Linked DNA regions of Homo sapiens: regions 1, 2, 3 and 4 are each linked to region 5. The links are contacts of gene promoters, found by promoter capture Hi-C in blood cells and fetal thymus (Javierre and others, 2016). All regions are on one chromosome and are shown on one strand. The core of a region is centred on a gene start or on the middle of the fragment in contact, and the rest is flanking DNA. Distances in the headings are between cores, read along the strand shown.

Region 1 (4,584 bases), core at 1,045-3,544, 610 kb before region 5:
ATGTTCCACATGCTTCAAAGAAAATGCTAAACCGTCACAGCTGTAAGATCATGCGCTTGCCCTTTCAAGCCCCACATTCTCAACACCTGTTTCTTTGTTTGATCACCAATAAATAGTCTGGGCTTCCAGAGCTCAGGGCCTTCGCAGCCTCCATACTCGCAATAGCCCCCCGGATCCAATTTCTCTCTCAAACTGTCTTTTCTCATTCCTTTGACTCCACCATACTTTGTCACCCCAACAACCTGGTGTTGGATCTGATCACCCCAACATTCTAAAACTCACTCTCTTCACTAAACATATCTGCAGATCTTTCCATGTGTCTGTGTGTGGGTGTGCATCTGTGTAGGTGTGTGCACCACTGAATTCAGCTGGTTTGTTACACACAGTGTTTAGTAATACAAATATAAGATCATATATTTTCTTTCATTCAATTTTTATACAGCTGGAAATGTATCTGTAATATACATACCTAGAAAGAAAATGGAGCATCACAAAGCACATATACTTAAATTTTTAAGAAGACCTAAATATCCTCCCAAAATAACATACTTTGCATTCCCACTAACAGAACAGGAGTATTATTTTCTCATCTACTAGAAAAGCACCTCACACTGGCTGTATTGTGTTGTGGTTATATATTTAATGACCTATTCTGCACAGCAACCCTGTGGAGATGGGTGCAGCACCATGACCCTCCCTGTTTAGCAGACAGGGGCAGGGGCGAGGAGGGCTGAGTGCTACCCAAAGCCACTGCTGTGGAGTGGAGCCAGCGCCAATCTCAGTCTGGCTTCAGAATCTGTGCATCTGACCACAGCGCCAAGCTGCTCAGCAGTGCCCATCTCTGCACTCTTGCCAACACTTAAAATGCTTCCCAATTTGTTCAGTAAAACACCATTTGTTGGTCCAATTTGTGTTCCCTGTATTATTGAGAAACTTAGATGATATTTATCTCCATCAACACCTTGCTAAGAAGTAAAAATCCCAAGTAGGTAGATGAGGTGAGGAAGGGAAGAAACAGTCCCCATAGGCAGAATTCGAGGGGGTTTAAAAAACATCCACCTTAATAATCAATATCAGTACATTAAAAAATGGCTAATAAAGGTATCCGCCCATTCATCAACTTCCAAACTCAGTTCCCATGTGAAATGGTGTTCAAGACCAAACAGCTTTGTGTGTCTCATGAAGAATATGGATTCCAGGAGGGACCATCTCAGTGATCTCCAGGAATGTAAGGAGGCAGAGTCCTCTCTTGGAGATATGGAAGGAGCAAAATACGTACCTGTGTATACAATACCACGATGACGTGCAAAAGGGAAACAAAATAAAACTAAAGGACAACAGAGTCTGGATGTTTTGTTGCCTGCAGATCTCACGTTGAAATGTGACGTCCAACAATGCAGGTGGGCCTGTTCTCGCAGTAACACGAGAGTTCTCACTTTATGAGTTCACGTGGGATCTAGTTGTTTAGAATAGAGCTGGGCACCTCCTCTCTCTCTCTCTTGCTCGCTCAATCTCTCACCATGTGACATGCAGGCTCCCACTTTGCCTTCTGCCATGATCATAAGCTTCCTGAGGCCTCACCAGGAGCTGAGTAGATGCTGGAGCCATGCTTCTCTTACAGCCTACAGAACTGTGAGCCAAAATAAACCTCTTTTCCTTATAGATTACCCAGTCTCACACATTCCTTTATAACAATGCAAACACACCAACAAAAAGGAAAGAAGCAGGCCAGACCTTGCAATGTGGCCTCACGAGGAATGTACACTATGGCTTCCATTGAACCATTTGCACCACTGACTTGTCATAGCATTTCCAGCCTCTGGAAAGCATTCCATAAGCCTTGCCCGCATAACACCTTGAAGTAGCAGCTCCTATAAATTTCATGAACACATCTGCAGTTTGCTACTCCTGACCACAAGCAGAGCCAGGCCAGGCTTGGGACATTCACACAAAACAAACACATCAAGTAGTGAACAAGCCTCACAGCCTCCAGTTCTAGGGCTTAACAGAGAGCCACACTGCACCTGCACAGCTTCAGTGCCGCTCATCATTTGCTGAATCCCTTAAGCAAGTGAGTCAACAAGGTCTTTCATTTTTTTTATCTTATACGGGCGATCTCCAATGTAGTATTCCTCAGCTTAGCAACAACGGCACATTTAGAGAAGAAAGAGTTAAGCTGCAGGCCCCTCCTCCCCAGCAATCTTTACACAGCATTTCTATGCAACGGACCACACACAAAACACGCCTGCAGTCATGTAACGGCGGTAACATTTGTTGAATTCTTACTATGTACCAGGCGTGCTTTCAAGCTCTGTGTGTGTATGAACCCACTCAATGCTCACACGGGCCTCTGACGTAGCTAACTGCTGTGATTCTCATCTACAGACGAGGAATCCTCAAGGTGAAGCCCTGCCCACATGACAAAGCAGGCGCGAGAGCAGCGAGATGGGGACCCAGGCCGACCTCGGCCCCCGACAGAGCCGGCAGGGAGAAGGACCCAGGCCCACCTCGGCCCCCGACGGAGCCGGCAGGGAGAAGGACCCAGGCCCACCTCGGCCCCCGACGGAGCCGGCACAGAGCAAGAATGAGGTGGTGCTCATCCCACACACGACGTTCCCTGTGCTGGCGTCGAAGCACCTGCACAACGTTGCTTCTTTGGGAACACGCATTCCGGTTCCAGACAAAATGCGAAGTTACCAGGAAGCCTGTTTGAGAGTGGGGTTGGGAGGGGGGGTCTTCCCTTCTGAACTGGCAGCCAGAACCCCGAGGAAGTGTCTTTTTTTTTTTTTTTTTAAACAGGGCAGCTACTCTGGTCTTGAATCACCATTCACCACCAAAGGTTTCTCTTTTAGATGGACGTAAATCAGCCCTGATGAAGGTGCCGGGGCAGCCACACAACGCACACAGAACACAGAACATCTCCTCTGCTTTCTTTCCTCTCTGGGCCACTCTTTTTCACAGCAGCAGAATGAACTAATAAATTCACAGTACTGGTAAAAATGCCCTTTAAAGGACAGGAGCAGTTAAGCTTGTGAACTCATTTCAGCAGAAATAATATTTTCAGGAAACACGCACCGCGAGGGGAAATTCAGTGAAAAATGTGCATGTACCTTTTTCGATGTTTAGCGTGACACAGACTTTCAAAAACACAACAGATAAGTGAGATTGCGATTTTTAATAGGAAAAGATACAATGTAAAAGCAGCCAATATATTAAGTTATGAGTTGATTTAATGTAATATTCTTCCTTTTCTCTAACAGGAGCAATGCATGCCCACTAAAAACAGCCCATTTTACAAGCTGCACAGCACGGAAAGTGAGCTGCCCATCTTTACTGCCTCACCCACCCTGTGCAGCGCAGTTTTTTTTTTTTTTTTGCACTGAATATACTATTTACAGATACTTAATTTTTTGTTACCAAAAACGGGATCACACTATATAAACTTTTTTACAAACTCTTTCTCATAAGCCTTGGCCACCTTTCTATTTCCAGGGGAGGTTATGGGCTGGAACTGGGGGGGACCCCGTGGGGAGGCCCCTCCTCTGCCATCTTCCCGCTGCACCTCCTTTGCCAAAACCAACTTCTCATCATCTAATTCACCACAAAACAGAACACACTGTAAAACGCACGTGGTTGGGTGAAATTAAACAGGAAACTTGGTTTGCTATTCGATGCTACCTAACTCTCATGGTCTGGGTCACGTGATTTTCATCTCGAAACTACTCTGTAGTTAGAGAATTGCAAAATTTTATCCCTCTTTTTAGATAAAATGACACAGTTTATCTTGCGTTCTCTTACATGCGGGATTATGGAACTCTGGGTCTGACTTTTCCGAGCAGTGGGAAGTGCTCACTTCGGATCCACTTTGGCTCAGGGCTGTGCTGACGTTTTCTCCGCTGTCACTCATCCAGGCACCATCAGCACCCAGTGGGCATCAGACAGCACCCTTCTCCCTGCGGACACGTCTTCTTTGATTTTTCTCCCAGCTAACTTCGAGCTTGGATACTTTCAAAAACTAGAAGATGGTTGTGGTGACAAGGGGGTATTTTATCTTTTCTGGAATTATTGTTTCATTGTTTTATATGATTTTTGCATTTTCATTACTAAAATATCAGGGTATCCAAATAGTACTTTGTAGTTACAAAGCTAAAAATTATGTTTTTCAGTTCAATAAACATTTCACAACGTAGCTTTAAGAAAATCAAGTCTATCATCTACATTCTAGAGATGGTAACAGAGTCAGATGGCAGGAGATTTAGGGGATACTTGTAGCCAGGAAACAGTTTCCTGGTTTTCGCCTTGCAATTTGTCCTTTAAAAAATGTCTGATGAGTTTAGGCACCACAAGCCCCTATTTCCCCAATATTTTTCTACTCTAAAACTAACATCGGGAGAAAAGAAAACACAAAATATAACAGGACAGTGACAGTTTTAAAGAGAAAAAAATACTTTAAATGCCTAGGTGAAAATACAGTTCACGTAGCAAGACTGAGCAGACTTCACTAGAGAACGTGATTTCCTGCCACCACTTGGCTGACACACATGAACACGAAGGTGAAAACAGACACACATGAAGGCACACACA
Region 2 (4,814 bases), core at 409-2,908, 840 kb before region 5:
TAGCAGCACTACCAATTTGTGTACATTGATTCTGTAGCATGAGACTTTACTGAATTCATTTATCAAATCTAGGATTCTTCTGGAAGAGTCTTTAGGGTTTTCTAGGTATATGAGCATATCATTGGCAAACAGATAGTTTGACTTTCTCTTTTCCAATTTGGATGCCCTTTATTTCTTTTTCTTGTCAGATTACTCTGACTAGGACTTCCAGTACTGTGTTGAATAGAAGTGTTGAAAGTAGGTATCCTTGTCTTGTTCCAGTTCTTAGGGGGAATGCTTTCAACTTTTCCCCATTCAGTATGTTGGCTCTGGGTTTGTCATAGATGGCTTTTCATATTTTGAGGTATGTTCCTCCTATTGAGCTCTACTTTTTAAAAGTAAACAGTTTTATTTTAGCTTTTCAAGCTTCAAATTTTTATTTTTTGAAGTGGGCAGAGGTATATGTGCCTTTTTAAATTTTTTTTTTTGGAATAGCTTATATGAAATGTCATACCCTAGGATTTTTAGTTCCAAGCCTCAGAAATTCTCTTTCAAGAATCAGATCCATGAAGTTCCCTTAAAAAGAGGATAATTAAAATAACCTGAAAAGTAAATGCATCCTAGATGAAAGCGTTAAATCTTTTTGGATTCCTCAAACACGCTACTGTATTGCCAGGGAAGATGGATATCGAAGGTATCATTGGTTGATATTCCCTGATGGTCACAGATATAACTATAATCACAGGTAAATGCACATCAGATCTTGAGATACGTTATAGTCAGGATATGGGTTGCCATCCAGTTTGAATGTCTGGGCATTCTGGTAATTTGAAAAGCAGCAATACAAAAGTGTTCTGCCTGTCCTGTAGTCAGCTCTCCAGGATGTCTCCTAATCCTGATAGGCATCAGAAAAACTTGAATGTCTTTCCCTGGGGCAGTCAGATCAACCGTCCTGGGGTTATGTCTTCAGTCAATAGTGAGACCACCTGAGAAAGTTTTTCAGGCTCTGCCTAGGTCTCTGGCTAGCCTCCTCTTTATCCCTGGTGTTTATCTGGATTTCAGGTGATTATTGGTATTCCTCCAGGCTGGGGGTAATATTTCCATGTACAGGTGGTTCTACAGGTTTGGCAGTCTACAGGAGTAGATTAGAGTCTTTAAACTGAGTGTCCTAACTTCCTTTGCTCTGGGAAGAAGTCCTAACTTCCTTTGCTCTGGGAAGAAGTCCTAACTTCCTTTGCTCTGGGAAGAAGTCCTAACTTCCTTTGCTCTGGGAAGAAGTCCTAACTTCCTTTGCTCTGGGAAGAAGTCCTAACTTCCTTTGCTCTGGGAAGAAGTCCTAACTTCCTTTGCTCTGGGAAGAAGTCTTAACTTCCTTTGCTCTGGGAAGAAGTCCTAACTTCCTTTGCTCAGGGAAGAAGTCCTTGAGGTGTAAGACTCACTGTGGCTCCAACCCCTACCGTCCAATATTTGCATTCACTCCTTAGTAATTTTATTACTCACACTAGTGTTTTGAGGCTTCACAGGTATCCCAGTACCTAGGCAGTGCCTGATAATTTCCACAGGTTTATTTTCTCTTTAACATAGTGTTCATAATTCTTCACTGATTCCACAAAGGCCAAGATGCATGGCAGGTGGAATTTTAGGGAGTGACCAGGTAAGCCTCCCTGGGCTTGGTGCTGACTGTTGACAGGGTGCTCACCAGGGCCCCATCAGGGCTCTTCGTTTGCTCTTCTCACGGGACAGCACAGCCTCATCCACCATTGATTTTCCACTGCTGTCAGTGTCCTTACTGTCTTCCGGGTTAGACCTTAGGTGATAACATACAACGTCTGTGTTTTTAAAGTGTGCTAAGTCAAATTTTCTTAAATATACATAATTTTGTCAGTTTTAAATTACCAGATACATTCAAGAATTATATTAATTGCTGCTGAGTTAGAATTGCATTTTAAAGAGAATAGTTTTATGAAATTTGAACTTGAAGAATAGAGTAGGAAATGTTAGATGGTTACCCTAAACATTGTAAATAATAGGGAGGGAAGAGGATCCGATGTCTGACTCATGGCAAGTAATTGACTTTGAAAAATACGAATTTTCTAAAAAGAAAGGCTGAACCGAAACTTGCCCACTCCAGTCTCTGATCTCATTCTCCTCAGCTCAGTGAGACCACACACTCCCTTTGGATCTCCATCCCTGCACTGTGGCCTGGGAATTGCTGTGAGGCAGAACACTGAGGTGGTTGTTATTATTATTATTATTATTATTATTATTATTATTATTATTTTTCAGACCAGTCTCGCTCTGTCGCCCAGGCTGGAGTGCAGTGGCGCGATCTTGGCTCACTGCAAGCTCCGCCTCCTGGGTTCACGCCATTCTCCTGCATCAGCCTCCCAAGTAGCTGAGACTACAGGCGCCTACCACCATGCCTGGCTAATTTTTTGTATTTTTAGTAGAGACGGGGTTTCACCGGGTTAGCCAGGATGGTCTCGATCTCCTGACCTCGTGATCCACCCACCTCAGCCTCCCAAAATGTATTATTATTTTTTAAATGTAGTTTGCTTTTGAAAGAACAACACAATAGTAAATACTTAATACATGTACTGTTAATAATATTTGCATATTAAATTGTGGGTATGTTTTAGTATAAATGGGCACTAATTTTATACTTTATCCAGTCTCACACTTTAAATAGACATTGTATCACTTAGGAGAAGGGCAATTATTCTGTTGTGGGAGTGGAGAAGAAAGGCTGAAACAGAGTCTAATGAAGTACATTATTTCAACACTTCTTTCTCTTCCTTTTTAATGGAACCCTGCTCCTCAGATAGAGTGGTTTTTGTCTTTGGTTCTGTTTATATGCTGGATTACGTTTATTGATTTGTGTATGTTGAACCAACCTTGCATCCCAGGGATGAAGCCCACTTGATCATGGTGGATAAGCTTTTCGATGTGCTGCTGGATTCGGTTTGCCAGTATTTTATTGAGGATTTTTGCATCAATGTTCATCAGGGATATTGGTCTAAAATTCTCTTTTTTTGTTGTGTCTCTGCCAGGCGTTGGTATCAGGATGATGCTGGCCTCATAAAATGAGTTAGGGAGGATTCCCTCTTTTTGTATTGATTGGAATAGTTTCAGAAGGAGTGGTACCAGCTCCTCCTTGTACTTCTGGTAGAATTTGGCTGTGAATCCGTCTGGTCCTGGACTTTTTTTGGTTGGTAAGCTATTAATTATTGCCTCAATTTCAGAGCCTGTTATTGGTCTATTCAGGGATTCAGCTTCTTCCTGGTTTAGTCTTGGGCGGGTGTATGTGTCCAGGAATTTATCCATTTCTTCTAGATTTTCTAGTTTATTTGCGTAGAAGTGTTTATAGTATTCTCTGATGGTAGTTTGTATTTCTGTGGGATCAGTGGTGATATCCCCTTTATCATTTTTAATTGCGTCTATTTGATTCTTCTCTTTTTTCTTCTTTATTAGTCTTGCTAGCGGCCTATCAATTTTATTGATGGCCATTGCTGAGGCTTGAGTAGGTAAACAAAGTGGCCTGGAGGCTCGAACTGGGTGGAGCCCACTGCAGCTCAAGGAGGCCTGCCTGCCTCTGTAGACCACCTCTGGGGGCAGGGCATAGCCGAACAAAAGGCAACAGAAACGTCTGCACACTTAAATGTCCCTGTCTGACAGCTTTGAAGAGAGTAGTGGTTCTCCCAGCACGGAGTTTGAGATCTGAGAACGGACAGACTGCCTCCTCAAGTGGGTCCCTAACTCCCAAGTAGCCAAACTGGGAGGCACCCCCCAGCAGGGGCAGACTGACACCTCACATGGCTGGGTACCCCTCTAAGACAAAGCTTCTAGAGGAACGATCAGGCAGCAACATTTGCTGTTCTGCAGCCTCTGCTGCTGATACCCAGGCAAACAGGGTCTGGAGTGGACCTCCAGCAAACTCCAACAGACCTGCAGCTGAGGGTCCTGACCGTTAGAAGGAAAACTAACAAACAGAAAGGACATCCACACCAAAACCCCATCTGTACGTCACCATCATCAAAGACCAAAGGTACATAAAACCTCAAAGATGGGGAAAAAACAGAGCAGAAAAGCTCAAAATTCTAAAAATCAGAGCACCTCTCCCCCTCCAAAGGAACGCAGTCCTCACCAGCGACAGAACAAAGCTGGATGGGAATGACTTTCACGAGTTGAGAGAAGAAGGCTTCAGACGATCAAACTTCTCCAAGCTAAAGGAGGAAGTTCGAACCCATCGCAAAGAAGCTAAAAACCTTGAAAAAAGATTAGACGGATGGCTAACTAGAATAACCAGTGTAGAGAAGTCTTTAAATGACCTGATGGAGCTGAAAACCATCGCATGAGAACTACGTGACGAATGCACAAGCTTCAGTAGCCAATTCAATCAACTGGAAGAAAGGGTATCAGTGATGGAAGATCAAATGAATGAAATAAATCCACAAGAGGAGTTTAGAGAAAAGAGAGTAAAAAGAAATGAGCAAAGTCTTCGAGAAATATGGGACTATGTGAAAAGACCAAATCTACGTCTGATTGGCGTACCTGAAAGTCACGGGGAGAATGGAACCAAGTTGGAAAACACTCTGCAGGATATTATCCAGGAGAGCTTCCCCAACCTAGCAAGGCAGGCCAACATTCAGATTCAGGAAATACAGAGAATGCCACAAAGATACTCCTGGAGAAGAGCAACTCCGAGACACATAATTGTCAGATTCACCAAAGTTGAAATGAAGGAAAAGATGTTAAGGGCAGCCAATGAGAAAGGTTGGGTTACCCACAAAGGGAAGCCCATCAGACTAACAGCTGATCTCTTGGCAGAAACTCTA
Region 3 (4,560 bases), core at 1,963-4,462, 660 kb before region 5:
TGAGCTGAGTGGTCAGAGACCACAGAACCTAAAATATTTACCAAACAGCAATTTAATAAAGAGCAGGCCTATACCTGGTTTAGAAAACTGACAGCCAGGGTGAAAAAAAGACAATTATGGTAATTAAAGTTAGTCACTCAATCTTTTTAAGATCAGATTTTTACTAAAAAGGATCCCAACGAATTACCAAACAGAAGAAATAGAGAAAAATAACGATTCTTTAATTTTACCTTCATACTAGAGAACAGATTTAGAGAAATGAAAAAGTGATAGATTACATATTTTATCAATTGATGGGGTAAGTGTGGATTTAACAACTTGTCAAAACTACATTTTTAATGGTTTTAATTTTGTTTACTACTATGAATTCACAATAGATACCATACATTAAAATAAAATATCCTAGATAAATCACGTTCTAAGATTTACAATTTAATTAACGGGAACGTTCTGTTGCCCAGGCTAGAGTAGGGTGGTGTAATCATAGCTACCTGTCACCTCAAACTCCTGGGCTCCAGCAATTCTCCTGCCTCTCCTGAGTCAGTAGGACCACAGGTGTGCACCACCATGCTTGTTTTTTTTTTTTTTCAGTGGTAGGGTCTATGTTGCCTAGGCTCATCTTGAACTTCGGGGCTCAAGCAATCCTCTCTTGTTCCTGCTGTGGCCATGTAAGATGTGCCTGGCCTCCCAAAGTGTTGGGATTACAGGCATGAGCCACCATGCCCAACCTACACAATTTTTTTTTTTTTTTTTTGAGACAGGGTCTCACTCTGTCACCCAGACTGGAGTGCAGTGGTGTGATCTGGGTTCATTATAACCTCTGCCTTTCAAGCTGAGGCCATCCTCCCACCTCAGTCCCTGAGTAGCTGGGACTACAGATGCACAACACTATGCCTGGCTAATTTTTTTTTTTTTTTTTTTTGTAGATACGGTTTCGTATTGTTGCCCAGGCTGGTCTCAAACTCCTGGCTTCAAGTACTCCTCCTATCTTAGCCTCCCAAAGTGCTAGGATTATAGGCATGAGCTGCCATAAGAGGCCTACGCAAAATTTTATCAGTGAAACAGCACTATGATTAACGAGTTAGGCCTTGTTAACTACTATGCTATAATACTAAAGCCAGTTCTTTAATGTAGCCAATCTCATCTAAAAATTTTCATAATTGTTTATAAGAGAATCCAACTAAAGAAATGTAAGGAAGTTAGGTTGGCTAACAAAATTTATTTCAAACGGGACCCTTAGTATGAAAAACTACTCTTCGGCAAATGTGACAAAGGCGTTTTTGGGCAATTTTCCATTTCTTTCCTCATTCTTATTCCAAAGCTTGATTTATTCTTTTCAAAAGGACACATAGCCCTCTGTGTCTGTGGGTTCCTCACCCCTGGCTTCAACCATGAATCAAAGATATTCATGAAAAAATCTGCATCTATACCTAACTTGTAGATTTTCTTATCATTAGTGACTAAACAACATAGTACAACTATTCACACAGCATTTACATTGTGTTAGGTATTACAAGTAATCCAGAAATTATTTAAAACATGAGAGAGGAAGTGCATAGGTGATGTGCTCGTATGATGCCATTTTATATCAGGGACTTGAGCATCCTCGCTCTTTGCTTTCTGCAGTGGTCCCGGAACCTATCTCCTCCGTGGACACCGAGGGACGACTTTCTAGCAAATAGTGACCTTTCCAAGGGTTTAATACTTTGAGAACAGGGTTAGGCACATAAGGGGTGAATATCAGGCCTCGAATTTTTACTCTGCTGTAAACTGGCCATTTCATCTTAGTTTTAAAAATTTTACTGTGGTAAAACATATGTAACATAACATTTACCATATTAACCACTTCTTTTCTTTTTTTCTGAGACAGAGTCTTACTTTGTCACCCAGGCTAGAGTGCAGTGGTGTGATCACAGCTCACTGTAGCCCTGACCTCATGGGCTCAAGTGATCCTCCCACTTCCCAAGTATCTGGGACTAGAGGCACGTACCACCATGACTGGGACTAGAGACTAGAGGCACATACCACCATGACTGGCTAACTTAAAACTTTTTTTGTGGAGATGGGGTCTCACTATGTTGCCCAAGCTGGTCTTGAACGCCTAGGTTCAAGCAATCCTCCTGCCTCGGACACCCAAAGTCATTTTAACCATTTCTAAGTGTCCCTGGAAGTGGCTTCCTCAAAAATACACATCAGCATTAATGATTTGCTCTGTCAGAATTGTCAGCACACAACGGGCTTGGGAACCCAGTGTGAATTCCTGGCCAGAGAATTTCAAATATACTTGTGAAAACTAAATATAGTTTCACCTCCCTCCTCATCACCATAAATAAGAAATCAACATTAAGAAAACACAAATCTTGACAGCAGAAACAAATAGAAAACCCAACTCATGATTTCCTAATTGCCCTTACCTCACTCAATACAGCAAATTTTGATTAATTGCTGTATTAGCCAAAATTGATTTTTGGCACTGGCAATAAATTCTGCTATGGACAAGACAAACCTACTTAAGAGCAGGTTGCTTATTCTCAAGACATTATTCTCTGAGAATGTTGGGAACCTGAGCTGTTCTTCAGATCTTAACTTCAAAAAGAATAAAAATAGACATTTTGGTAAGTAATACACATTCGCACATTAGCAATTTGATGATTTCAGATTACTAACCTGACAAAATATACCAACAACTGAAAACTCTCCTAACTTGGGAATTCAACAAGACAGGTTCATCTCACCTGGGGGTCCTGGGTCATACCCTGTCTGCCAGCAGGCATGCCATCCAGCCCAGGGTCTCCCTACACACTTGAGTTACTGCAATGAAGCACTTTATTATTTTTTATTGTTGAGACAGAGTCTCACTCCGTCGCCCAGGTTGGAGTGCAGTGGTGCATTCTTGGCTCAATGCAACCTCTGCCTCCTGGGTTCAAGTGATTCTCCTGCCTCATGCTCCTGAGTAGCTGGGATGACAGGCGTGTGCCACCACGCCAGGCTAATTTTTGTATTTTTAGCAGAGACGAGGTTTCATCATGTTGGCCAGGCTGGTCTCAAACTCCTGACCTCAAGTGATCCACCCACCTCAGCCTCCCAAAGTGCTGGGATTACCTGCATGAGCCACCGCACCCGGCCTATTCTTTTTAAAACACCCGTCGGCTTTATTTAGGTATACTTTGCATACCCTAAGTTTCACTCATTTTAAGCACAGAATGGCTTTTAATAAAATTGAAGAGTTGTAAAATGGTCACTACTCTAGAACATTCCCATCACCTGAAAGGGATCCCGTGTCCATCTGCAGTCAGTCCCATTTCCAGCCCTAGCCCCAGTCATCATTCTACTTTGTTTACAAATTTGCCTTTTCTGGACACTGCCTACCACACAGCCACACTTCCCTCCCTCAGCAGGTGCTTCTGAGCTCATCCTGTGCAGAAGCACCCACCATGTGGACGTGGCAGGCGTCACCTGTTCAGTCACCTGCTAGCGGATACCTGGATTGTTTCCTTGTGTTGACCGAGGTTCCAGGGAACTTACACCAAGTCTCTGAGTGGATGTTCGCTTTCCTTTCTCCTAGGAGTGCAGCTGCTGAGTCAATGCAGCAAGTCTGCTTAATTAAGATCATGCCAAACAGTGGCTTCCCCATTTTACATTCCCACTATCAATGTATGAGAATTCGTTTTTCCACCTTCTTGGTTACTGTTGCTTTGCAGTGTAAGTTTTGAAGTCAGAAAACACGAGCTCTCCAACTTTATTTCCTGTGTTTTCGGTGACAGCATTCTAGTGGGTGTGAAGTGGTATCTCACTGTGGTTTTAATTTGCATTTCCCTAATTAACGCTAGGTATCTTTTCACGTCCTTATTGGCCATTTGTATGTCTTCTTCTGGTGAGATATCTATTCAGATCTCTTGCCCGTGTTTATGTTGCTTGTTTCTGAGTTTTGAGTGTTTATTACATAGGCTGGGTGCAGTGGCTCACGCCTGTAATCCCAGCACTTTGGGAGGCTGAAGCGGGCAGATTACTTGAGGTAAGGAGTTCAAGACCAGCCTGGCCAACATGGCAAAACACTGTCTCTACTAAAAATACAAAAAAAATAGCCAGGTGTGGTGGTGCATGCCTGTACTTCCAGCTACTTGGGAGGCTGAGGCAGGAGAATCACTTGAACCTTGGAGGCAGAGGTGGCAGTAAGCTGAGATCAAGCTACTGCACTCCAGCCCGGGTGACAGAGCAAGACTGTCTCAAAAAAAAAAAAAAAAAAAAAGAAAAAATTTATTACATAGGTGCTTAGAAGTGCTTCATGAGATTTATAATTTGCAAATATTTTTTCCCAGACTGTGGCTTGTCTTTCTACTTAATTCTGTCTTTTGATATACAAAAGTTTTAAATTTTGTTCCAGTCCAGTTTATCAGTATTTATGTAGTATACCTTTGATGAACTCTGTGCCTAACCAAGATTATGAAAATTTACTCCTGTGTTTTCTAAAATTTTTATAATTTTTGCTCTTACATTAAGATCTATGATCCACTTGAACTAACTTAGGTATATGACGTTGAGTCAAGGTTTAATCTTTTT
Region 4 (4,882 bases), core at 854-3,353, 860 kb before region 5:
TAGTTGTAAGTCTCACACCTGACCATACTTTTGAATTCCTTCTCTTTATCTGTCCTCATCTACCAAGTCTTGCCATAAAAGAATCTGAGTAATTGGATCTCTTGGAATAATTAATAGACATAATAACCATGATGGGCCTAGCTGTGAATTCTACACTCTTAAACACTAGGTGGCCAAAGGAAAGATCTTTTTTTCACTTTGAGTGACTCATCTAAATATAATATTTTGGATTTATTTGTTGCTTGTTTTAGAATTTTTCACATATCTAAAACCCTTGGTTTAGTGCGTGCTTCTTTTTAAAATTTTTTAAATCGATTGCTCTGATGGACAAAATATAAATTTTTAATACAAAGCAAGGAGGTTTTCTGTGTGTGGCATTACAAGTATAGACTTTAAACAATGTGATCCTAATTGGGTAATACATCTGAAATGACAGACTTGAATAGGAATAGTAATTAAAAGTCCAGACTTCAGATCTGTCAGTAGATAATCTTGGACTCAAGCCTGGGATAGGTCACTTGTCAGCTGGAAGCCTAGGCAAGATATTTTATCTTTCCAATTCTCAGTTTCCTCATGAGTAAAATGTGGGCACTAGAGTTATCAGTTGGTAAGGATTAAGTGAGCTGGGACGGTAAAAGCTTAGTCACACCATACAGTTCTCAGAATATTTTATTTTAGTTTAATGAATACAGGTCCTTATTGTGCAAGGGATCTAATAATCAAAGATAAATTTATAGAAGAACTAAATTTTCTAACTAAAACTTCTCACCATCATATAAAGAGTTTTTAACCTCCACAAGGAATATGAGTTCAACATCACTGTAACTCTTAATGTAAAATATGGAACTGATGATATGGTTTGGCGCCGTTTCCCCACCCAAATCTCATATCAAGTTTTAATCCCCACGTGTCAAGGGAGGGACCTAGTGGGAGATATTTGGATCATGGGGGTGGATTTCCCCCTTGCTGTTCTTGTGATAGTGAGTTCTCATGAGATTTGATGGTTTAAAAGTGTATGGCACTTCCCCCTTGGCTCTCTCTCTCCTGCCGCCATGAGAAGAAGGTGCTTCCCCTTTGTCCTTCTGCCAGGATTGTAAGTTTCCTGAGGCCTCCCAGCCATGCTTCCAGTTAAGCCTGCTGAACTGTGGTCAATTGGACCTCTTTTCTTCATAGATTCCCCAGTCTCAGGTAGTTCTTCATAGCAGTGTGAGAGTGGACTACTACAACTGACTTCTAGAAGTTGATTGAATTAGAGGGAAAACCTACATGAAATGCTATCATGAGCATTTCTTGTACTTGCACTCCCACTTAGTCTATTGGATTACCATTTTCGTACTGAACACACTTATGTCTGGCTTCACTTTTGATTTTATTTTTCTAAAATCCCAATCAGAGAATGTGAAAACCAATGCTATGAGGTTGAACCATATGAAAATGCCAGTATCCACTTTCTTTGACCTATAAAAATGGCTTCAATTTGATATTACTATGAACAGTAGAGTTGTTCTTCATTTAACAGAATAAATGTATTCATAGGAATATAATATTTAATTAAAAATAAATTTTCTGGGCCAGGTACAGTGGCCCAGCACACCTGAGTGTAATCTCAGCACTTTATGAGGCCAAGGTGGGTGGATCACTTGAGGTCAGGAGTTCCAAACCACCTTGGTCAACATGGTGAAACCCCGTCTCTACTAAAAATACAAAAATTAGCCAGGTGTGGTGGTGCACGCTTGTAGTCCCAGCTACTCGGGGGGCTGAGGCATGGAAATTGCTTGAACCCGGGAGGCAGAGTTTGCAGTGAGCTGAGATCATGCCTCTGCACTCCAGCCTGGGCAACAGAGTGAGACTCTGTCTCAAAATAAATAAATAAATAAATAAATAAAATGTTCTATTACCTGCATTGCATGGTACTTTTGGTTTAGTTGCTTGCTAAACAAATACCACTTAAAGTTGCACAGCAAGTCTGCTAAAATCCAACATTTCACTTTGTGGAAGGAAAATAAATATCAGGACCCAAAATCACTAAGCCAAAGGGGAAAGTCAAGCTGGGGAACTGGGTCAGACAAACCTGCTTTCCATTTTATTCCCAAATAAGATAGCCACAAAGATAAAAAAGCTACATACCTTACTCACAATTTTGCTCACAAGGAAATTCCGTTGGGGGGGGGGGAGGGGCGGGGGCTCACGATCTTTACCCTAAAACCATTCTGTTGAATTTTTACCCTGGCAAGGTAAATTGATAGCTTATTTTCACAGGTGTGGGACAAAGGACAGAACTCAAAGTCATCCTGCTCACCTGAGACAAATGCATATCTGATTGCTTCCTCTGCCTTATCATTTATGTAAAAATGCAGTCGCTGAGCCAGACTAAGGCATAAGTGACTATCTGTCTACCCCCATCTCACGTGTAAATTGTGTATCTCAGCGAAAGGCTGATCAAACACTCGAAATAATACAACCGTTTGTCTCTTATCTATGACCTGGAAGCCCCTAACTGAGTTGTCCTGCCTTTCCAGACCCAAGCAATGTACATCTCACACGGGTTGACTGATGTCTCATGTCTCCCTAAAACGTATAAAACCAAGCTGTGTCCTGAACACCTTGGGCACATGTCATCAGGACCTCCTGAGGCAGTGCCATGGGCATGTCCTCAACCTTGGCAAAATAAACTTTCTAAATTGATTGAGACCTGTCTCAGATACTTTTGGTTCACAATTTCTAGAACAACATTTTTTAATAATTGAAATATGAATACGACACAAGAAAATAAAAATAAAAAAAAGAAAAACTAAAACACAAATACTTTTATTTGCCAGAGATTAATATAGTTAGTATTTTTTCATAACACTTTGTGGTCTCTTTCTACTAATATACATGTTTATTTTTACACTATATGATCCTTTTCTTTAACGTCTATCCTAATCCTAGTTTTGCACTTAACAATAAGAAAGACTTTTATAAACAACTTCTTTAATAGTTACATAAATCCTATCATAGGAATAAATCACAATTTATTTAGCCATCGCTCTATCGCGCGTGTGTGTGTGTGCATATGTACATATAAAACATCTTGCTGGCATAAAATGCCATTTACATAAAAGATAATTAGCATTCATTTATTAGTAAATATACAAGAAATTCTATAATTGTCCCTAAATCTTGTTGTAATCTATATTCAATTACCTTCTCTTCCAGTAACTGTCCTTTTTTAAAAATGCAATTACTAATAAAAAATTAAAAATGTGCTGAGTTTCACTTTTTCTTTTAGCTTCTTTGCCTATATTCTGTATGAATTTTCAAAATAGGTATAAAAAAACAAATGAATACAAATAAGAGAGGATAATCAGCCCCTGAATAACACTGTGTGTGGAAAATTAACACCAGGCTTCACTGGAGAAGCGGGACTGCGGACTGACTGATGGAAGGAGGAAGGTGACGATGCGGAAAGAAACGCGTCGCTTTCTATGTTTTGCTTTCTACGCATGGTAGTTGAGGATGTAGAACTTCCTGTGCTTGAAATTCTCAGTGCAGTTACATTAAAAGAAAAAAGGAAGTTGTGCCCTCTGAAGCTTTTCTTTCTTCTCCTTTTTTTTTTTTGGTTTGTTTTTTGAGACTGGGTCTTGCTCTGTTGCCCAGGCTGGAGTGCATTGGCACAATCATGGCTCACTGCAGCCTCAAACTCCTATGCTTGAGCAATCCTCCTGCCTCAGCCTCCACAGTAGCTGGGACCACAGATGCGAACCACCATGACTGGCCTCCAACTTTTCTTTGACTTTATCTCAATACTGCACATAAGCAAAAGAAACCAATCAAACTGTAAGTGCAGAGACAATGGCCAAATAATGTAGGAAATATTTTTGAAATATAATTATTTTGTAGAAAGTATAATTTGGCACTGTAATTATTTACATTTCATTTTATTGTTCTCCTAGATATTTACTTTCTACCATTTCCCCTGCGAGATCTAATGTGTTTACTATATTTTTCTCTAGGTCTTTAAGGGATTTATCACTGGACAATTTATTAAGACATAGTTTTCTTCAAATAATAGAAGAATACAAATGGACGTTTTATACTTTACTACTTCTAGAAGACAGTTTCCTATGAACTATTTATTTATGTGTTTATAAATGTTTATTTATTTAAATGTTCCTATCCCATCAGCCTTTTTACAATTTCTCTGAGCTTTGTTTGTATTAAAAACTTAAAACATACATAAAGATAACATCAGTTTTAATTTTATGCCAATTAACCAAACCCAAAGAAAGCTTTTATGAAAATTAACAAACGGGAGAATCCTTCAGAACAACAGAAAATTCCAAAGGCATCAGTGGTAAATACTGTGATGATTTCTTAAACATTAATTTGCATGGGAACATGAGTAATCACAACTGTGAGAAAGCTGAAGGAAGAGAATGAAAATCTTAAATGCTATATACCACAGTACTGGGTTTTAAAGAAACTAAAAGGCCGGGCGCAGTGGCTCACGCCTGTAATCCCAGCACTTTGGGAGGCCGAGGCGGGCAGATCACGAGGTCAAGAGATAGCGACCAACCTGGTCAACATCGTGAAACCCCGTCTCTACTAAAAACACAAAAATTAGCTGGGTGTGGTGGCGCGCTCCTGTAGTCCCAGCTGCTCGGGAGGCCCAGGCAGCAGAATCGCTTGAACCCGGGAGGTGGAGGTTGCAGCGAGCTGAGATTGCACCACTGCACTCCAGCCTGGCAGCAGAGCCAGACTCCGTCTCAGAAAAGAAAGTAAAAAAATTCCCGCACAGATTCTCATTTGCCATTGCCACAAATAGGTGGCAATGAGAAGGGAATTTCTGTAAAATGTAACATGGAAGAGGCATGTTCACAGCTCTGTGTTCAGATATGAT
Region 5 (4,641 bases), core at 602-3,101:
TCATTGTTATAGCTCTGGGCCCATGATGAGTCATTATGGTTGTGCATTCACAGACATGCCTTTGTAGCTGAACAAGTTAAAAGCAGGTGGCTCATGCCTGTAATCTCTGCACTTTGGGAGGCCAAGGTGGGTGGATCACTTGAGGTCAGGGTTTGAGACCAGCCTGGCTAATATGGTAAAACCCTGTCTCTACTAAAAATACAAAATATTAGCCGGGAGTGGTGGCAGGTGCCTGTAATCCCAGCTACTTGGGAGGCTGAGGCAGGAGAATGGCTTGAACCCTGGAGGCGGAGGTTGCAGTGAGCTGAGATGGCGCCACTGCGCTCCAGCCTGCGCGACAGAGTGAGATTCCGTCTCAAAAAAAAAAAAAAAATTAAAGAAAGGATGTTTGCCCATCTGAAGCAAAGTATTGACTGGACTTATCTAAATACCGGATTACAAGAAAAAGAGGAACTGGCTATATCAGAGTGAGAGAAAGTGGGAGAGGTTGAGGAAACATACAAGAACCTAAAAGAAAGGGCAATAAGTATGAGCATAGCTTTGCTAATCTCGGAAATGGTGGCCAGAACTGTCCTGTGGTTTAGCAAATGATCATAGCCAGCAAATCCTAATTACCCTAGAAGCTTCCTTTAGAAGTGCCACAAAGATGTAGGAGGTATGCTTATCCGCCTTGTGACACAAAAATGGAAGCATAGTTAATAGATGAGAAAAGCATGACCCAGAATGATTTTCAATATTGGAATGCTGGGAATTTATGAGAGGTATTTTCGCGTAAGAATAATAGGACTTGTTTAAAAGGATTGGAGAGTGGGGGGCATCCCAGATGCGTGAGAAGCAGTATAGCTAATGGTTAGAAGCAGGTTTGCTGGAGCCAGGCTGCCTGGGTTCAAAGCCCACCTCTGCTGCCTGTTAGCTTGTCAGCTGCACAACCACGGGGTGCTTTCGAGCCTTGTGTGCCTTTGTTTCCCCATGCACTTCATGAGGCTGTTGCAGAAATTAAACGAGTTAATATATAGTCAGCAGCTCTGAACACTGCTTGACTGAGTCAGCCCTACCTAACGTTTAATTTAAGGGATGTGGCCCTGGGTTCCCAAAGGGAGCGGCCACTCTATTCACAAACATAAAAGCAGTAAAGGCTCCATCCTCATCAACCTTCTCCTCAGTTGGACCCCACAGGACTGTCTCTCGCAACTGTTCCCTGGGCTCTCCTAAGGCACTGCGCGGAACCAGCTGCACCTCTTTTGCCTTAGATCAGGCTTTCCCTTCTCCGCCCGTTTTGGGATTTAACAAGCACGAGAAAGCAGGGCTGCAGGGAAGCCGCGAGGGCCTCCTCACCACGGCCCGGGATCAAGTCCCACGCGCGAGGCCGGGGTAGGGGCGTCATCTGCTCCACACCCAGAGGCTGGGCACGCCCCGCACGCGCGGCTTCCTCCTCCTTTGCGGGGCTCGCCGCGACCCAGGACCCCCAGACTCCCGGATCCCCTAGACCCTCTGGACTCCTAAGCCCCGCAACTCCCAAATCCCAAGACCCCGGACCCTCCAACCCTGGCCCAGGGCGCGTGGCTGGGGGCCTGAACCCGCTCCAGAAACCCGCAGGGCAGTCTGTCGGAAACCCCCGCTTTACTCAGCAGGAATTTAGTCTCCGCGCTCCCCCTAAAACCCGGGCGTCCTCTCCTCTGTACCCTCGCTCCTGAGGCCCTCACACGCCCTCCGTGGCTGACCTCCAAGCCGGGCGGGTGCGCTGTGCGACGCGGAAAGCGCCGTAGAGCACGCAGAACACGATTGGCTGAGCTCCCGGAAGTGACGTACCTCAACCGCCCGACAGTGGAAGTCCCACCTGCGCCCGACGGCGGAAGTTCCGGGAGTGCCAAGTACCCGCGTGCATACGGCTGCCGGCATGGCACATTACAACTTCAAGAAAATTACGGTGGTGCCGTCCGCCAAGGTAGGCGGCCCCGGGAGGGCCACTGCAACTTTCGCGTTCTCCTCAGCTGGGTCCCCGGGGAGGGTCCGGGCCTGTAGCCGTGGGAGAGCGGTCGCCTTCCGCTCGCCCATCCCCCGCTCCTGGGCCTGACCGTCTGGCCGCGTACTCGGGATCATTTCCCCTCCCCCAGCAGAATCCGGGGTCCACCAGAGATCGGATCCCCCAGAGACCGGGGTCCACCTAAGACCGTGGTCCACCCAAAGACTGAGGGCCCCCAGAGATGGGGGTACACCCAGAGTTGGGTTCCCTGGAGGGGCCCCGGGTGACGATGTGGGCGAGTGGAGGGGGACCCCGACATGTGAGGGAGGAAGCGTTCCGTGGTCCGTGATGAGCCTTCGGATTCTGGGTTTGGCGTAGCCCCCTCCCCTCTCAGGAATCCTGGGTTCGTTGTTCTCGTGATTTAACGTTTCATAATTTTTAAGTCATTCTCTTTCACTGTTAGATTTGGGAATACCTGTTCCTTTTCAGACCATAGTAGGCCCAGACTAAATTTTTACAGCGTTGGTTGGTGTGGCAAGAATGAGTCAACAAGTGTTGAGTATTAGGACTTTTTTTTTTTTTTTTTTTTTTTGAGACATAGTTTTTCGCTCTTGTTTCCCAGGCTGGAGCGCAGTCTCGGCTCACTGCAACCTCCACCTCCCGCGTTCAAGCGATTCTCCTGCTTCAGCCTCCCGAGTAACAGGGATTACAGTCGTGCACCACCACACCCAGCTAATTTTCGTATTTTTAGTAGAGACGGGGTTTCACCACGTTGGCCAAGCTGGCCTCGAACTCCTGATCCCGGGTGATCCTCCCGCCCCGGCCTCCCAAAGTGCTGGAATTACAGGCGTGAGCCACTGCGCCCGGCCCTAGTATTAGGACTTTTAAGAAGTCACGTTTTTATGTAGTGAACATTCGATTTGGGTCGCAATTACACAGACATTGACGGGCAACTGGAGCCTCCCAGGGACTCCTGCACGAGAGGGAGTTACTGAAGTCCCTGCAGAGTGACTGTTTTCCCCTCGTCAGTGCCTCCTTTTCTTCAGGTCTCAAGGACGGGATGAGCTTGCCTTGGAAAGCTTTGTGGGAGTCTCGTATTTTACCTTCATAGCAAAAGTTGTTTCCCCACTTCTCTCCACCATTTCTTATTTCTTCCTGACAGTTGTTCTGGCACATCTCTTGATCGATTGTAGTATTTTCTTTCTTTCTTTTTGAGATGGAGTCTCGCTCTGTTGGCCAGGTTGGAGCGCAGTGGTGTGATCCTGACTGCAGCCACCGCCTCCCAGGTTCAAGTGATTTTCCTGCCTCAGCCTCCCGAGTAGCTGGGACTACAGGCATGCGCCACCAGGCCTGGCTAATTTTTGTATTTTCAGTAGAAGTGGAGTTTCACCATGTTGGCCAGACTGGTCTTGAACTCCTAATCTCAAGTGATTCACTTGCCTCAGCCTCCCAAAGTGTTAGGATTACAGGCATGAGCTACTGTGCCCAGCCAGATTGTAGTATTTTCGAGTGCAGGAGTCATGTCTTATTTGTATTTTTGGTCAACCATCTCTCAGGTTTGTTGAAGGAATTTGCTCTTTGGATTATATGAACTTTGTTCATGTTATTGACTTATGTGGAGAACTTTAGAATATATTATACACCATCCGTCTTCTGTTCTGTGGAGTGAGATTTATATTTTTAGAGAACAGATGACTTATCTAAAAACTGGGTGATGGTAATTGTTTGGTGATTGGAAGTAAAAAAAAAAAATCACATCGGGAAAGTGTGGTATTCAGTTCATTCTAGAAGATGTTGAGTGAGTGCCTGTCCTGTGCATCGGGTACTGTGTTACAAAAATGCATTAGATAAAATACCTGCCTCTTTGGAAGTCATTTTCAAGAGAGGTAAGTCGAGGCCGGGTGCGGTGGCTCTCGCCTGTAATCCCAGCACTTTGGGAGGCTGAGGCGGGCAAATCACGAGGTCAGGAGATCGAGACCATCCTGGCTAACACGGTGAAACCCCGTCTCTACTAAAAATACAGAAAAATTAGCCAGGCGTGGTGGCGGGCGCCTGTAGTCCCAGCTGCTGGGGAGGCTGAGGCAGGAGAATGGTGTGAACTGAACCCAGGAGGCAGAGCTTGCAGTGAACCGAGATCGCGCCACTGCACTCCAGCCTGGGCAACAGAGCAAGACTCCATCTCAAAAAAAAAAAAAAAAAAAAGTGGGGTAAGTCATATCTCGTATGACCATACTAGAAATAAAACATTGTTATCATGGAGGACACACATGGATTGGGAGAGGAGAAGAGTGTGGTTAGCTGTGGTAAGTTGGAGAGTCAGGGGGAACCTTATGAAGTAGGTAACCTTTGACTTGGTCCCCCTTCAGGATGTGCGAACGGCATTAGGTGCAGAAGAACGTAGAGAAGATCTTGTGTGGGCCCAGAGGGGAGACCGTGTGTGCCCCTCATAGTACTTGGCAGACTGTTGTGACCACCCGTTTACTTGTCTCACTTGTAGGCCCAGAGGGGAGACAGTGTGTGCCCCTTATAGTACTTGGCAGACTGTTGTGACCACCCATTTACTTGTCTCACTTGTAGGCCCAGAGGGGAGACTGGGCGTGCCCCTCATAGTACAATACTTGGCAGACTGTGTTGTGCCCACCTGTTTACTTCTGTCACTGGACCCTGAATTCCGTGAA

The links. Contacts are between HindIII fragments. The CHiCAGO score rates a contact against its expected background, and 5 or more counts as called.
Region 1: a fragment that was not itself captured here is called in contact with the fragment with the promoter of GTPBP4 in region 5 in 1 of 17 cell types (fetal thymus); the score reaches 5.4 in fetal thymus.
Region 2: a contact is called between a fragment that was not itself captured here and the fragment with the promoter of GTPBP4 in region 5, in 2 of 17 cell types (fetal thymus and naive CD4 T cells). The highest score is 7.9, in fetal thymus.
Region 3: a contact is called between a fragment that was not itself captured here and the fragment with the promoter of GTPBP4 in region 5, in 2 of 17 cell types (naive CD8 T cells and total B cells). The highest score is 5.4, in naive CD8 T cells.
Region 4: a fragment that was not itself captured here is called in contact with the fragment with the promoter of GTPBP4 in region 5 in 3 of 17 cell types (fetal thymus, total B cells and naive B cells); the score reaches 9.1 in fetal thymus.

Annotation. Positions count from the first base shown.
Region 1 is chr10:373,782-378,365 of GRCh38, forward strand. All of the region lies in intron 17 of DIP2C (disco interacting protein 2 homolog C), which reads right to left. Among named protein-coding and RNA genes, the nearest start is that of ZMYND11, 240 kb to the left of the region's middle. The HindIII fragment of the contact is 1,463 bases long and covers 1,564-3,026 here.
Region 2 is chr10:147,068-151,881 of GRCh38, forward strand. All of the region lies in intron 1 of ZMYND11 (zinc finger MYND-type containing 11), which reads left to right. It also overlaps the pseudogene DDX20P1. Among named protein-coding and RNA genes, the nearest start is that of ZMYND11, 14 kb to the left of the region's middle. The HindIII fragment of the contact is 2,511 bases long and covers 404-2,914 here.
Region 3 is chr10:330,077-334,636 of GRCh38, forward strand. All of the region lies in intron 29 of DIP2C (disco interacting protein 2 homolog C), which reads right to left. Among named protein-coding and RNA genes, the nearest start is that of ZMYND11, 200 kb to the left of the region's middle. The HindIII fragment of the contact is 3,787 bases long and covers 1,320-4,560 here.
Region 4 is chr10:124,559-129,440 of GRCh38, forward strand. No RefSeq gene overlaps it. Among named protein-coding and RNA genes, the nearest start is that of ZMYND11, 8.5 kb to the right of the region's middle. The HindIII fragment of the contact is 2,934 bases long and covers 637-3,570 here.
Region 5 is chr10:986,583-991,223 of GRCh38, forward strand. It overlaps GTPBP4 (GTP binding protein 4), which reads left to right and starts at 1,852. Exons shown (of 17, transcript NM_012341.3): 1 at 1,852-1,945. The coding sequence starts at 1,898. It also overlaps a transcript of LARP4B not described here. RefSeq lists an enhancer at 3,599-4,494. The HindIII fragment of the contact is 2,419 bases long and covers 622-3,040 here.